2 separate regions of the Homo sapiens genome follow, and region 2 is linked to region 1. The links are contacts of gene promoters, found by promoter capture Hi-C in human tissues and cell types (Jung and others, 2019). All regions are on one chromosome and are shown on one strand. The core of a region is centred on a gene start or on the middle of the fragment in contact, and the rest is flanking DNA. Distances in the headings are between cores, read along the strand shown. Region 1 holds the start of GREM1 (gremlin 1, DAN family BMP antagonist). Region 2 overlaps FMN1 (formin 1).

Region 1 (2,996 bases), core at 289-2,788:
AGCTGGTTCAATGCTCCCATTCTGTAGGCAACTACAAACTGTGGCTCACTGCATGACTTAACAACAACTGATTGAGAATTGTAAAGTGCAGCCTCGAGTTCATGTGTAGAAACTGCCATCTGCACAAACAAAACATTGAGAGGACTAAGATTTTAAGGATACTAATGCAGACGTCCTTCTTGCTTCATTTATTTAAAAATATCTATTTCACGTTCCTAACAGCATCTAGTAGATGTTTCTTGCTTCTTCCCCCTAACGCCGGACTAAAGAGAAAAAAAAAATAGGCTGTTTTCTGGTCTGGTTTTGTTTTCCTAGTCAAGTACTTAAATTACGGGTGTTTCGTAAGTATCTTTTGATGGATTTCATTGTTTTGTTTATTTCGCGTTAGACAATACAGACACCTTCATATTTCCTTCTGTAGCAAATCTTTTTCAAAGTCTTCATTTGACGTGGCTGATGGAGCTGGTCTGCAGATCTTGCAGACGTGTTAATTTTTGCACGGACTTTAGCTTCAACACACAAAACTTACGGCCTCTTTGAGGAACCAATTTTTCAGGCTAAGAGAACAAATGAAAGTGTTCGCTCATCTTTCGAAAACTATTTATGTACTTGGTATCCGGAATGTGACATTGGTTTTACACGTCGGTAGGTTTTTGTCCTAAATTTCTGGGAAGTTACTTCCTCATCTAACGTTTTATTTTCCTGACTTATTCGTCTTTGATATGCTACAGAAAACCCCTCTCGCCCAGTGGCTGTTTTCTCTCTGTCTCTTAAGATAATTTAGGAACAGAAGCCTTGACTTTTGACGGTCATTTAGTTTTATTCTCCTCCCGTGACTCCCCTCTGTACACTCACAGGGGAGGCCGCCGGCATCTGGGCTGAAAGAACCCTTGGCGGGCGAGGAGAGCAGGGTGTCATGTTGGCGACAGGCTCCTGCTGGCGGCCAGCGAGCCCGCCAGGTTAACGGGGGCGCCGGGGTCAGCGCCCTCGAAGTTGGGGGCCTCGGGCGGGGCCGCCGGGGAGCCACGACGGCCGCTCGACCAGAGCATCCCGCAGTCCCGTTCCCTCCAGAGGGGAAGAATGGCCGAATCTGGCACGATCCCACGGAGATCTCGCTCTTCCCAGCGCAGTCTCCGCTACTGAGCGCGGGACCAACGCAGGCGATGCCGGGCGGCCGACAGGGAAAGCCCAGACCTGGGGCAGAGAAGGAATGAGGGGCCGCCAGCCGGGGGGATTTCCTCCCGCTCTTCCCTCTCCAACGGGAGCGGAAAATGTGATTTGCTGTGCATTCCAGGCGCGGTTCCCTGGGGTGACCTCTCCCAGCCGGCCCGGGCGGGGGGAGCAGACAAAGAGGCGAGGCGGGCGGAGAGGGGACCCCGCGGGGAAGCAGGAGGGGTGCGGGGGGCGGGGGCAGTACCGGGAAAGGGGGCGGATAGCGGGTCTGGCGGCGGCGGCGGCGCCTGGCCAATGGAGAGGCGCGGCCCCGGGCGCCGCGCTCTGCCGCCGGCATTTAAACGGGAGACGGCGCGATGCCTGGCACTCGGTGCGCCTTCCGCGGACCGGGCGACCCAGTGCACGGCCGCCGCGTCACTCTCGGTCCCGCTGACCCCGCGCCGAGCCCCGGCGGCTCTGGCCGCGGCCGCACTCAGCGCCACGCGTCGAAAGCGCAGGCCCCGAGGACCCGCCGCACTGACAGGTGAGCGCGGACGCACCCGGCAGGGATGTGAGTGGGCGGAGGGAAGAGGGCCGCAAACCAACCCAGGACCCGCTCAGTTCCACGCGCGGCAGCCCTCCGTGCGCGCAGGCTCGGGTGCGTTGTTCGCGGGGGTGAATTGTGAAGAACCATCGCGGGGTCCTTCCTGCTGAGGCCGCGGACACCGTGACCTCGCTGCTCTGGGTCTGCAGGGAAACGTAGGAAAAAAAGTTGTCAGGAGCGGGCAGGATGACCCCCACATCCCGTTTCCACCTCCCGGAGGCCCCCGAACACGCTCCTGGTGCTGGTGGCAGCAGCGCCTGGCAGACGCGCCCGCTTAGCGAGGGCGCGAAGTCCAGGCCGCCAGAGCGCAGGAGCATCCGGACCTGCTAGTCGGCCGCTGACTGCGCGGCGAGTTGCCTTGAGAGGGTCCCATGTGCTTGGGGCGCCGCGCTGGGTCTGGGGGCGTCTTGGGGCGCCCATTGGAGTCCGCGGGTTGGAGCATCCGGAGAATCCATGATGTGTGCATTTGCCGATCCCCGAGGTGAGATGGAGACTGGCAAGGGCAGAGCCGCTGTGTTCAGCCACAGCGGAAAACCGAACGGTGGGTAATCCGACAGCTGCGGTGCGGGGCGCGGCCCTGGCCGCGGGGTCCAGCGAACCCGCAGTGCTCACAAGGCAGACACCACACGCGCTCGCGGACCGGCCACGCACTCGCGGGCGCTCGCTTCTCTACTCCAGCCTCTTCCCCGCCCCGCGCACGCCCGGGCTGAATGGTAGACGTTCTGGCGCCGGGCAGCGGCCACCGGCTGGTTCCCACTTCCGCGCGCACCCCTTAAACTGTGTTCTAGAGGCCCCAGCCTCGCCTTGCAGCGCCTCACTAGCTCCTGAGGACTAGGGACTGGCGGCTGAGGCGGGTTGGCGGCTGCAACGAGCTGGGCGTCTTTCGTTCTCTCTCGCTGCCTGGCTGGCTCCGCTGGCCCCTCCACAGCTTGCGGAGCAAGGCCATAGCAGGGGAGTGGGAGGTATATTGGGGCTGTCACCTCCTTGCTGGCCGGAGTTATTTGTAGACTACAGACTCCGGAAGAACAGACGCGCCACCGCTCTCGCTTGGCATTGCCTTCGGATCGCAGCTCCTCCTTGGGGGTGCCCCAGCTTGGCGTTTATTTGCCTGCGCCAGGCTCTGGCGACGGTCACCGGGCCAGGCGGGGAGGGACGGACGGCAGGTGACCAGCCTCTGCTGTGAAGAAATTCCTGCGCGCCCGGAGCTGTCCCTAATGCATTCCCGGGTCGAATCCGTCTA
Region 2 (2,996 bases), core at 287-2,786, 48 kb after region 1:
ACCCTCACATAGGTGTTGTAATTCAGAACACAAACCTAATAATGTTTCTCAAAAATGTTAGCGGCCTTTGGATTCTTCTTTTCAAAGAATAGTTCTAGAATATTTCTCCATGATAGAGTATTTTGAAGGAGAGAGCGGTCTAATTTGATGAATGAATCCATCAGTTGGAAGGGCTTTGGCCTTAGTGTCAAGAAATCTGGGTTCTAGTCTTGAAGTGTTCACCAACAGTAAGTGTGATTTTTAGCAATTCCCTTGAACTTCAGAAGTTTTACTGAGATATTTTCTCCAATGTCCAAAGATTTTTGCAGCTCACTGACTATGATTTAGAAGATTTTGTAGTGGTGAAATGTCTTCCTAGATAATAACTATGTATGTTCATTAAACATTGCTATACATAATAGGGTATATTGCAGCAAATATCTAGAACTGTAGCGTACGGCATTCAGGAACACCAAAGAAATGAATTAACTAAAAAGCACAATTACATTTGTATTTAAATAGAAGACTGTTTTGCTTAAAGTGTTTTATGTTTATAAAATACCTGCATGCTTCATATTATTCCTTGAAAAGAATGTGTACCTTGTGCTTAGTAAAAGAATCCATACAATTATGTTTCTATTCTGTTTCTCCAGTTTATTATTTTCAACCTATAGCCTGAAGTCACCAATCTCTTTGTGCCCCGTCCCTTGGGCAATGTATATTCAGGAAGTGTTGCTTTTGGGTAAGCCTTGTTGAGACAATGCCTGGCTGGTTTTGTCTGTTGGTTGTTAGCCTTGAATGTCTGGCCAAGTTGCCCACAGTTGATAGGGGACAAATGGGAGAAAAACGGAAATACCAACGATAGACTTCCTCAGACTCAGCTCTTGCAGCTCAGAATAGTGTACCCGAGTGGTAACGCAAGTTAGAAATGACTGGTGTTCTCCACATTACAGTACTACTGGGATATTGCTTTACATGCCTCCTGAAAACAAATCTGCATTGCACACCAGATGGACATGAAACCAAGATTTATTAAAATACCCTTAGCATATTTACAATTGAAAGCCATGAATGCAATTCTCTGTAAATTCCAAAAAATATAATTCTCTTAAAACAAATTAACAGAGGTATCAACAGATTAGGATAAATATAATCTATCACAGAGATAGAATTTTTTGAATAGACAATTGACGTTTTTCTAATCAATATATATTATGTACAAAAATACACTTGATATTGTGACCAAGTACTGTCAAGGAGGAAAAAATATATATATATAATACACACATTTTTATTATGTACAAATCAGTGTTGGTTCCTTCACTCTCTTTTTAAAAATAAATACTTCATTTGGTTGCAAATGACATTTATAAATTCAACTCATGAGCATTTCTCAGCTTTGACAAAATTAAATATGCAAACAAATTAGAAATACGTATTTTTAAAAATGCAAAGGGAAAAATACCTGAATCCAATGAGCTTATTATGCTTAAAAATATCCCAAGAGCGTGTAAGGTTTCATGTCTTTAAAGGGCCTTCTCCTTTCCCCAACTGTCTTCATTACTGCCTACAATCTTTTCAGATTATATCTACAGACTGGTCTAATACTTAATTAAACAGAAAAGCCTATGTTTTACCAGGTTAAATGGCTATTTAGGACATGCTTGCACTTTTAAGTGCTTTCAAGAGTGTAGCAGTTACTGTTCATCTGAAAATAACCAAGAAGTGTCAACATCCTGATTCAGAACAGGGGTAGATGTTTGAATCATGAATAGTAGTAAGAATGGAGCGGCAATAAAAATCCTTATGATTCAAAGTGTTTGCCTGCACAGAATTAAGTCAATTTGTCCAGCACCACAGAAAGTTACTTGAGATTCAAAAATCTGGCGTTCTGCATCATAGCTGGTGACCCGGTCTGATGTACAAATTTATCAAGAGAATGGCCTTAATTAGTTTAAGGTAAAATCTATGAGAAATTGAGAAGGCCTAGAATAAGAACCCCCCCCCCACCCCGCCCAATCTTCTTAAAATAAAATAAAAAGAGACGTATTTTCCATCTCTTTTATGGATTTTCCTTTTTGCTTAAGTGATGAGGTGATGCTGACATTAACAAGAGGCAGTCACAGCAGTGTGTCTCACATGGGCTCCTTGGTGACAGCGGAGCTCCCTGTCCAAACGGCTGAGGAACGGAGCACAGGGTGTGAGAGGATGGAGGAGGGGCCAAGGGAGCTACTCAGTTGTCTATGATGCAGAGGTGTGAAAAAATCTGGGTCTGGGGGAAACTGTAAAGTAGGAAAGAAATAGCCATGGAATATGAAGGAAAAGGACGAGGAAACAGAAGTATTGAAAGAAGAAAGTGAAACAAAGCTAGAAGTCAAAATGACTTTTGAACAGGCATGGAGTAAACAGGGTCTATGGTCAAGCAGCCCCATGGATCTGAAATTGTTGGAGCTGTTAAACCAAGCACAGACCAGTTTCACTGGGGTACCTGCTTTCCCAGTACATTGGCACTGATCAATACAAGATCAAGGGCACTCACATTTGCCTAATACAGATGCCTTGAATTTCCACGGAAAAGCTGTCCACGATACGACCATGGCAAAAAATCACCAGCTCCCTAACAATGTAATCTATCAGCAAAACATTGCACTAGCCTCGTTCAAATTTTTCTCCTCCATGCGTCCTTTTTTTCTTGCTCATCCCATTGCTTGCAAACTCACAAGATACCAGTTATATGAAGACATAAAACTGCATGGATCAGGTGCACTTTAGAAAGCAGCATCCAGGGTCCAGGGTGTCACTAAGAAAACTAAACCCTGAAGTACTTGAAATAATTTACATTTCTGCTAGGTCTGATTCATACTAGGATGTTGACTGCCTTCACTCAGGTTCTAGGCATGCAGGCCAGTGCTTATTTTCCAGGCCAAAGCACGATCCCCTAAATCAAAGTCCAAGGCCACCCTGCTTGCCATGCTAGTCTAAATGAAAACTCAATGAAAGAAAAAGACTATGATAAA

What was found. Contacts are between HindIII fragments. The study calls those that stand out against the background at their distance.
Region 2: a contact is called between a fragment that was not itself captured here and the fragment with the promoter of GREM1 in region 1, in 1 of the 25 tissues and cell types used here (IMR-90 fibroblasts).

What each region holds. Positions count from the first base shown.
Region 1 is chr15:32,716,466-32,719,461 of GRCh38, forward strand. It overlaps GREM1 (gremlin 1, DAN family BMP antagonist), which reads left to right and starts at 1,539. Exons shown (of 2, transcript NM_013372.7): 1 at 1,539-1,696. It overlaps GREM1-AS1 (GREM1 antisense RNA 1), which reads right to left and starts at 2,400. Exons shown (of 2, transcript NR_109767.1): 1 at 2,080-2,400; 2 at 1,636-1,899. RefSeq lists enhancers at 1,045-1,545, 1,683-2,261, 2,262-2,839. The HindIII fragment of the contact is 12,229 bases long and covers 1-2,996 here.
Region 2 is chr15:32,764,554-32,767,549 of GRCh38, forward strand. It overlaps FMN1 (formin 1), which reads right to left. Exons shown (of 21, transcript NM_001277313.2): 21 at 991-2,996. Among named protein-coding and RNA genes, the nearest start is that of GREM1-AS1, 47 kb to the left of the region's middle. The HindIII fragment of the contact is 6,406 bases long and covers 1-2,996 here.